Linked DNA regions of Homo sapiens: region 1 is linked to region 2. The links are contacts of gene promoters, found by promoter capture Hi-C in blood cells and fetal thymus (Javierre and others, 2016). All regions are on one chromosome and are shown on one strand. The core of a region is centred on a gene start or on the middle of the fragment in contact, and the rest is flanking DNA. Distances in the headings are between cores, read along the strand shown.

Evidence for each region. The method cuts DNA at HindIII sites, captures the fragments that hold promoters and counts their contacts. A CHiCAGO score of 5 or more calls a contact.
Region 1: a contact is called between the fragment with the promoter of ALAS1 here and the fragment with the promoter of TUSC2 in region 2, in 2 of 17 cell types (non-activated CD4 T cells and neutrophils). The highest score is 6.2, in non-activated CD4 T cells.

The regions. Positions count from the first base shown.
Region 1 is chr3:52,195,659-52,200,321 of GRCh38, forward strand. It overlaps ALAS1 (5'-aminolevulinate synthase 1), which reads left to right and starts at 2,502. Exons shown (of 12, transcript NM_000688.6): 1 at 2,502-2,597; 2 at 3,014-3,190; 3 at 3,552-3,782. The coding sequence starts at 3,584. RefSeq lists enhancers at 2,044-2,113, 2,124-2,343 and silencers at 2,484-2,553, 2,664-2,743. The HindIII fragment of the contact is 12,746 bases long and covers 1-4,663 here.
Region 2 is chr3:50,325,719-50,330,657 of GRCh38, forward strand. It overlaps TUSC2 (tumor suppressor 2, mitochondrial calcium regulator), which reads right to left and starts at 2,505. Exons shown (of 3, transcript NM_007275.3): 1 at 2,236-2,505; 2 at 639-759; 3 at 1-468. The coding sequence starts at 2,381. The coding sequence ends at 403. RASSF1 (Ras association domain family member 1) reads right to left here. Exons shown (of 6, transcript NM_007182.5): 6 at 4,070-4,939. The coding sequence ends at 4,863. RefSeq lists an enhancer at 2,640-2,749. The HindIII fragment of the contact is 3,021 bases long and covers 2,289-4,939 here.

The DNA of each region.
Region 1 (4,663 bases), core at 1,252-3,751, 1.9 Mb after region 2:
CTCAAGAAACATATTCCAAGATACCTCACCCTTACCTCATCAGAAAGGGGAGCTGGTTAAAATGCAGATTTCTGGGTCAAAATCAAAGGTGTGTGGCACAGGAATCTGCATTTTGACCGGTACCCTGGGGGTGGTTCTTTGGGCCCTGACACTGGGAAACCCCGTGGCTCATTTAGGGCCTTTCTGGTCTGACCTCTTGGCGTCAGGTCCTGACCATACTCCCGTTGCCCAGCTATTTGGGCTGACTCACGCTGACCCCCCAACCGCCACCCCCACAGGGCTGAGCCTTTTCCATCCAAGGCTTCACCCACAGTCTCCCAGTCGCATGTAGATCCACCCTTCCAACCAGCACCCGCTTCTCTTCTGGAAGCCTTCCTCGTGGTTGGGATCCTCCTCTTTCAGCGCCTGTTGGAGTAATAGCCTCCTCCTCTTCCTCCATCTGGAGTTGCTTACAACACTCTATTTCACTTTCCATGTGAGTCGGCCTTGTTTCCCAATCTTTCTCTATATTAAACAGGAAACTCCCAGAGGGCTAGGGACTGGCTGGTTTAAACAATAAGCCTCTGAAATACAGGACTTCACCTGACCCTCCTGCCAGCCACAAGTGGCAGGGCGGGAGAGCTTTACAAATCAGGAAACCAAGCCTTGAAGAGGTTGTGGCCTGCCCAAGTCTATGGCCAAGTAAGATTCAGAGCTGGGTTTGAAACCCATGCCCAACTCCACTATCCAGTTCTTTCTGCTTTGGCTTTGGCTCTGATCACCCCCAAAAAAACCCTATGAGGGCCAGGCGCAGTGGCTCAAGCCTATAATCCCAGAACTTTGGGAAGCTGAGGGTGATCACTTGAGGTCAGGAGTTCAAGACCAGCCTGGCCATCATGGTGAAACCCCATCTCTACTAAAAATACAAAAATTAGCTGGGCGTGGTGGTGTAATCCCAGCTGCTCAGGAGGCTGAGGCAGAAGAATCGCTTGAACCTGGGAGGCAGAGGTTGCAGTGAGCCGAGATTGTGCCACTGCACTCCGGCCTGGGCAACAGAGGGAGACTCTGTCTCAAACAAACAAACAAAATAACAACAACAACAAAAACAACCTGTGAGGCAGGCATTTCAGGGATTATGATCCTATTGCCCAGATAAGGAAAGCAAGGCCCAAAGATGAGCAAAGCACTCAATATCATCCTTATTCTGTTCCCACTTCCAGCTGCACTTGGGTCCAAGTCCAAGTGCTGACCTTTTCTCTCTCATCTTCTCTGGGTGATGGGCACTGCCCAGGATCTCTTGGCTGAATGGCACAGAACTGGGTCTCGAGCTCTCAGACCAAAGCCCTCATCCTGGACTGGTCCCACTGCCACTCTGAACCCAGGTGCCTCCTCTGAAGGTGGAGACTCACCTCACCTGCCTTGCAGCCAGCTGGGTGCTCAGAGACAGAAATGCAAAGTACCTGGACACACCCTGGTCACCATCATTCTGGACTTTGTCCCTCTTGTTAATGCTCAGCTGGGAAAGGAATACCCTCAAAGGCCCTTTCCTCAAGAATGGAGGAGAGTACCTCTGAGCCTGGCACAGGCCCAGCCCAACACAGCCCAAGCCAAGCTGGGAAGGGTGTGGGGCAAGGAAGCCAGACTGACATTCCTGAGACGGGTTTGCCAAGCCCTACACTTTATGTGTTGTACCCGGGAAACTCAATGGAGGTATGGCCCAACGCTGACCTTTGGCATGGAGGCCTAAGCCACCCTGCTGGTGCCCAGGGTGGCCAGCAAGGGGCTTCAGACAACCCTGGATGGAAAATAAAAATAGTGGCTAATATTTGTTACACGCTAACTATTGTCAGGCCCTGTGCCTTCCCCTCCTCCCCAAGTGCTCAGAGCTGTGGAGTGGATGGGTTCCACCCTAGCCCTGTTCCTCTGTCCCCTCTGGATCATCTTAGACCAGAAAGTGCCACAGCTGAGTGTCCCGCTTCTTCCGCATCCTGCCAGGACCACTCCATTTGTGGGCGATATAGCCAGCTCCACCTCCTCCGGGAAGCCCTTGTTCACAGTTTCCAAAGCAAGCCGCAGGCGGGATGGATCCTGCTTAACACCCCGGCCCAGAACCCCTTGGATCTCCTTCTTCCTCCATGTCCAAGACACCCAGCTTAACAACCCTGTAGCCCCCAACTTGGCCCTAGCGGCACCTCGCCTCGACCTTGCCATTTTATACTCAATTGGGGCGTAGGGTTCTGAAGCCCAGGGTAGTTGGTGGGGAGGCAGCACGAGGGTGCAGGATGAGGTCGGGAAAAGAGACCTCGTCCGCCCACCGCCTAGCGCTTCCTCCTCCCTGCAGGCGAGCCGGGGAATCCCCGGCAGCACCGATATCCGCAGAGCCCAAGAAGTGGGCCTCTCTGCCCCGCCCCCCCGGCTCGCCGAGGGCTACGCGGCGCGCCTGCGCAGAAGAAGGCAGCGCCCAAGGCGCATGCGCAGCGGTCACTCCCGCTGTATATTAAGGCGCCGGCGATCGCGGCCTGAGGCTGCTCCCGGACAAGGGCAACGAGCGTTTCGTTTGGACTTCTCGACTTGAGTGCCCGCCTCCTTCGCCGCCGCCTCTGCAGTCCTCAGCGCAGGTGAGGGCCCGCGCGGTAGGTGCGGCGCCGGCCGAGGAAGCCCCGGGGTGTCCTGCCAGCCGTGGCACCGCTGCCCCGGGTGCTGGGACCCCATCCCCCACTGTCCCAGTCACCCGCCGCCTTGAGGTCAGCGTTTATCCTCCAGATCTTTTGCCTAGACGGCCGCCTCAGTTTCCCCCTTTCGGCCCCTTCCGGCTATTCCCGGTTGAACCCGCCGCTTTAGAATTCCCTTCTCATACCCCTCCCGTCATTCTCGAGACCTCGACCGCGGGTCACCTCTGACCCCCACTGCCGGAGGACTGCCTTCTTTCTCCAGACTCAACTCCCTCGACTTTATAAGCCCCTGCGCGTCCCCAGTGAGGCCCAAGGCGCTGGCCCTCATACCCCTACCCTCATTTGTGCCCCTCCTTTCTCAGTTATGCCCAGTTCTTCCCGCTGTGGGGACACGACCACGGAGGAATCCTTGCTTCAGGGACTCGGGACCCTGCTGGACCCCTTCCTCGGGTTTAGGGGATGTGGGGACCAGGAGAAAGTCAGGATCCCTAAGAGTCTTCCCTGCCTGGATGGATGAGTGGCTTCTTCTCCACCTAGATGTAAGCCAAGATGTCTTATCTGCACTGTGCATCTCCCTAAGAAACCTCTGGCCTCCCAAACCTGTTCTTGACCTTTCCCTCATCCTTCCGCCCCCTTGATTATGTACTGTCAGTATTCATTTGGTGAAGTTGCTTTGCAGGTGCCTTTGTGTAGCGCTGGAGAATGAAGAAGTTGGTGACCCGGGTAAAGTGTGGTCACCATTCCTTAGCTCACATCAGTGCTGTCCTTAGGCATTTTTGAGGGAGAAGTGTTAGTATTCCAGGGTACCCTTTATATAAACTGCGGTTGACACCTGAATCCAGTGAGCTTGCAGTGATATTTGCCTGATTATTAACAACTGTTGATGTCACTCTTCATCAGTCTTTCCACAGGAGCCAGCATACTTCCTGAACATGGAGAGTGTTGTTCGCCGCTGCCCATTCTTATCCCGAGTCCCCCAGGCCTTTCTGCAGAAAGCAGGCAAATCTCTGTTGTTCTATGCCCAAAACTGCCCCAAGATGATGGAAGTTGGGGCCAAGCCAGCCCCTCGGGCATTGTCCACTGCAGCAGTACACTACCAACAGATCAAAGAAACCCCTCCGGCCAGTGAGAGTAAGTGTCATTGACAATGAAGGAGCAGGTATGGGTGTTTGTGCTCATTGGTAGACTAGAAGCAGTCCCCACAGTGGTGGTGAGGGTCACACTCACTCACAGAGGGCTGCTATGTGCAGGCTGGGCTCTGAGCACAGATTATCTCATATGATTGTCCCCCCAAGGGTAGGCACTTTTAGCTTTTCCATCTTTAAAGGTGAAACAGTGGCCAGTGTTGCACATTACAGGTTTTTGGATTGCACGTTAGTGTCTATAGGGGTTTTAGTGTTTCCTCAGTGCCTCGTTCACATAAATATTAAATTGGAATGTTCTAATTTCCCTCATTAAACATTTAGCCTTCTAATTTCCCTCATTAAACATTTGGCCTTCGGCTTTTTATTTATTTAATTTTTCTTTTTTGAGACTGAGTCTTGCTCTGTCGCCCAGGTTGGAGTGCAGTGATGCAGTCTCGGCTTACTGCAACCTCCACCTCCCAGGTTCAAGTGATTCTCCTGCCTCAGCCTTCCAAGTATCTGGAATTACAGGCATGCACCACCACGCCCAGATAATTTTTGTACTTTTAGTAGGGTTTCACCTTGTTGGTCCGGCTGGTCTCAAACTCCTGACCTCAAATGATCCACCTGCCTCAGCCTCCCAGAGTGCTGGGATTGCAGGCGTGAGCCACCGTGCCCGGCCCCTTTGGCTTTTTAAAGTAGTGATTTTTTTTTTCTTAAAAGTTTTTGTTCTGTTGTGGTAAAATGCCCAAGAAAAATTACCATTTTAAGCACTTAAAAATGTGCAGTTCAGTGGTACATTCATATTGTTGTGTCACCACCACCATCCATCTCCAGAACTTTTTTCATCTTCCCAAACTGAAATTCTATACCCATCAAACAGTAACT
Region 2 (4,939 bases), core at 1,255-3,754:
AGGGGCTGGAAGAAAGCATACCTTGCTTGTAAAGTGCTGTAGCCTCTAGCAGGGCTAGGCCCCAGGCAAACTTGGAAGAAAGCAGACCAGGCAAGGAACCAGGTAACGGGCATTCCTGACTGGTATATGCCCTGCTGTGCTGCTTGCAGGGGTGGCTTGGGAGAGTGGGGTGCTAACTCTGCCATTAGCCTTCACCACCCACCAACCACCTCTTGTCCACACACAAACCAACACCCAACCAATACTGTGGGACCGACCCGCTCACAGCTGAAGGTTATGGGCCAACAGAGTTTATTCAGGGTTGTGGCCCCAGCCTGGGCTCCTCAATGGAAGCCACACCTTGATTGAGCCTGGGAGTTTCTTGCCGGGGCAGGGGGTGCTTCTGTCTGCCACCTCCCAGGGTCACACCTCATAGAGGATCACAGGGAAATCCACGTGGATGCGGGGGTGATCCAGCTTCACGATGCCCTGCCATGGAAACAGAGGCTAGTAAGGGTCAGCTCAGGGCCTCTACTTCAGGAAGCTTCCTTGTTCCTCCCAGATCCCCCCGCAAAAGCCCCCACCATGACAACAGATCCCATCTGGGTCCACCTCCACACGCTTAGTGTAGGCTCTGTGACCGCTGCCCAGCCCCTCACCTGAGGAATCAGATTCTTATGCACTCGCCTCAGCTTGGCCCGCTTCTGCCCGTTCTTGGTGACGATTGTCTCCTCATAGAACTCGTGAGCCAGATCCCCATCCTCATCATAGAACATAGAGCTGTGTAGAGGGAGAAGGAAACAGGCTGGGCTGGAGCCCCACACCTGGGCATGGCAAATGTCACAGGTCACGGGGAAGTCTGTGGTCTTCCCAACCCCAAGTGGGAAGAAAAGAGGATAATATGCCTGGAGAATCCTTTTTTTAAAAAAAATTTTTCGAGACAGAATCTCACTCTGTTGCCCAGGCTGGAGGTGCAGTGGCGCGATCTCAGCTTGCTGCAACCTCTGCCTCCTGGGTTCAAGCAATTCTCCTGCCTCAGCCTCCCAAGTAGCTGGGACTACAGACATGCACCACCACACCCTGCTAATTTTTTGTATTTTAGTAGAGACGGGGTTTTGCCATGTTGCTCTGGCTGGTCTCGAACTCCTGAACTCAGGCAATCCACTCGTCTTCATCTCCCAAAGTGTTAGGATTACAGGCGTGAGCCACGGTGCCTGGCCTGCCTGGAGAATCCTTTGCCTGGGGTTTGGGGTCTACTAGAAGAAAGTGGGAAGTGAGGTGATGGGTGGGCAGTGCTACTATGTCAGACCCCCAAGAAGAGAGCCCACACCAGAGCACACCATCCAGGCAGCCACCAAGGCCAGTTCTCATCCTTGATTTGTTCAGCAAGGGCAGCCATTCTAATATCAGGACTTTGCCTTCACCCAGGACTTCTAGAGTGGGCAGGGTGGTGGCCTGGGCATGTTGGTCTCACTCCAGAAGATGCTGCTGGCCCAGTGTCAAAGACTGAAATAGCAGAAGCCTAAGCTAGGAAGAAGCACAAAGGAATGAAGGCTGCGTCTCCCCTGACCCCACACCCCAGGTGGCTGGTGAATTGCCACTGTTGGGTCTTCCTGGTGTCTACAGCCAAATCTCTAGCACAGGGAGCGCCCATCTCCAGGAGCCCACTAGAGCCAAGCCAATCTGGTACTCTTGTGCGGGCCTCTGGGAGACTGGGCTGGGGGTTGGGTGGGTAGGTCAGCGCTCTGGATCTGGAGAACATAACTGGGTGAGGGTCTTTTTTCCTCAGCCTCACCCCCAATACTGAGGCCTATCCCTGCTTTCCCAGCCACTACGCTCAAAGGTTCAGCCCCACTACTGTCAGGAAAAGCAGCCTAAACAGAGGGTTATTATCCCCTTGGAATAACTGGGGGGGAAAGGGAGGCTAGGACCCTTCAGTATGCAGGCTGAGCCGGAAGGGATGAAAGGAAGAGATCTTATGGAGGTCTTATGGAGGCCCTAGCTTAGCTTTACCGTGCGGAAGGTCCGACCAGTGACAAGCCTCAGGCCCACTCTTCCCTAGGGAGACTTTCAGAGTGGCCAGGCCGCCAGGAGACCACTGCCCGGCTTTCTCCACCCCCAGCTCCAATGAGGCTCAAAATATGGGGGTCGTCCTGGCTTGGCTGTAGTGGGGTACAGCGGTGGAAGTTCCCCCGTGGCGCGGGACGCCTGGCCGCCCGCCTGTTCCCCCCGCCAGGGTGGAACCCATGCCCTTACCCGCGGCGCGTGAATACGAAGGGGGGCACAGCTCGGCCCCGAGGCCGCACCAAAGCTTGCTCAGCTCCTGCTGCCTCTGAGCCGCCGCCTCCGGCCGCCGAGGCGAAGGGCCACAGGCCCCGAGCTTTGGACCCGCTGGCGCCCATGTCAGGGCCGCCGGCGCATGGCGGGCCCCGTGGCCGCTCTGCTCACACCGCAGTCCGCACTACCATAACCTGCCCCAGCCGCTGATCGCAGGTGCCGCCGCCGCCGCCTTCCGCAGGCTCGGCTGTCTCCACGGAAACCTCACTTCCGCTTCCGCACGCTGCCACCTCTGATTGGCTGTTGCTCAAGTCGTGGGGGCGGGACCAATGGGCGCCCTTAGATGCTGGGCATCCCAGCATGCGTTGCGAGATCCCAGGTCCCAGCAAGCGCGATCTGACCAGCTGGGACAGCTCCCACCGAGGAAAGTGGTGGCCGTGAGTCCTCCCGGTCTTTTGGGTGTATTTGGCGGCTCTGACGTCCCCCAACACCTGAGTTCAGGCCTAGCAGGACTTCGCAAGCACCAATCCTCAAACCTGCACTTCAGGGCCTAAGGCCAGACCGCCGGGTGCCCATCTGGCTTCTATTTTCACAGCTGTATTTTTGCGATTGCCACGCTTATGTGAACTAACCAAGTTGAAAGAAAATTAAGGAACTGGCCAGATTCACATAGTTACATTCAGTTCTGAAGAACTTCGAATTCAGTGTTTTCAAACCCAGCAGAGTCCATGCTTAATGAAAGCAAGAATTGTTAACAGCTATACCCTCGGTATCACGAGCAGTGTCTGGTCCACGGTGGCAGCTCTGTATTTGGTGAAGGAGTTATGCCACACCTTCTCCCAGAGCGTGGTGTGTGTGTGTTGAAGGGATGGTTTTGTTTTTTTTTTTTTTTGAGATGGAGTTTCACTCTTGTCGCCCAGGATAATGTGCAGTGGCACGATCTCGGCTCACTGCAGCCTCTGCCTCCAGGGTTCAAGCGATTCTCCTGCCTCAGCCTCCCGAGTACTTGGGATTACAGGCATCTGCCACCATGCCGGCTAATTTTTTTGTATTTCTAGTAGAGACGGGGTTTCACCATGTTGGTCAGGCAGTCTTGAACTCCGGACCTCAGGTGATCCACCCGCCTTGGCCTCCCAAAGTGCTGGGATTACAGGCCTGAGCCACTGCGCCCGGCCGTTTTTTTTTTTTTTGAGTTGGAGTCTTGCTCTATCGGAGTGCAGTGGTGTGATCTCCACTCACTGCAACCTCTGCCTGCCGGGTTCAAGCGATTCTCCTGCCTCAGCCTTCTGAGTAGCTGGGACTACAAGCGCCCACCACCACGCCCAGCTAAATTTTTTTTGTATTTTTGGTAGAGATGGGGTTTCGCCATGCTGGCCAGGCTGGCCTCGAACTCCTGGCCTCAAGTGATCTGCCCACCTAGCCCAACCAAAGTGTTGGGATTACAGGTGTGAGCCACTATGCCCAGCCAGTTTCCCTAAGTTCTAACTGCAGTCCATTTTTGTCTCCACCACAACCTGAGCCCCAGGGAGCTGAGTGATGACCAAGTATGTATGCATACTACATCTTCACAAATTGGTCCATGGTGACTTTGCAAGACACCTGGGAGCCTGTCCATCACCCTTGGCAACTTCTGGCACCATGAGGGGCAACTGCAGCTCTGCGCCTATAATAATAAAGAGTCCAGGCTGGGCAGGGTGGCTCACACCTGTAATCCCAACACTTTGGGAGGCCAAGTTGGGAGGATCCTGGGCAACACAGAGAGACTCATGTCTCTACAAAAACTTTATATGTATAAAAGATTCCAACAGCAGGAGGATCTTGAAATCTTTATTGAGCCAATTCTCTCAGGCCCCAGGCCCTGATGATGACTGTCACCCCAACCCCTTTCCCCACAGGAGGCATTCAGCTGAGGCCACCACACATTACATACATTCACGCACTTCATAAAAAACACCTGAGGGAGAGACCCTGGCTTTGATTAGCAAATAAGGTATGAACCTGGGCCAGTGCCCACATTCACACAGACCCTGGCCCAGGGACATCCTCCTCATATGAAGCATTAAGGCACATGCTGTACTGTGAGCCAGCACTCCCTGACCTCAGGGTGTGTGAGGAGTTGGCACTGTAGAGAGAAACCAAGACTCTTCCTCAATGCCTGCCTTATTCTGAGCACCCACCCTTAGCTCTGATAAGGATATCCTGAGACCACATTCAAGATCCAAAACCTTTCCTCATAGATGAGGGCCGTCACCCCTGCAAACATGACCCTGTTCTGTTTGCAGGGTCTCCAAGATTTTCACTTCTGAGACAAAAATTGAGGAGACTTCTGTCTGCACCACTCCTGCTGCAGGCCTGGAGCAGCTTCTCAGGGCAGCCCTGGCCCACTAAGGCCCAGTAATGAGGGCAGAGGGGTGCAGAGCCATACCTGGCTACACCCACAGGTGGACACAGGGAGCAAGCTACTTCGCTGTTCTCTGGGCTCATTCCCCCAGCACAGGAGGGCCTCCATGCACACTCATTCCACAGGCCCCACTGGCCCTGTCACACTCACACGGCACGCACTTGGCGCTGCCTGCTGTCTGCCTTCCACCTGGGGGTACAAGAGGTCACCCAAGGGGGCAGGCGTGCAGGGCCTCTTGGATCTTCTGGCGGCAATAGGAGTACTTCTGCAGGATCTGGCGGA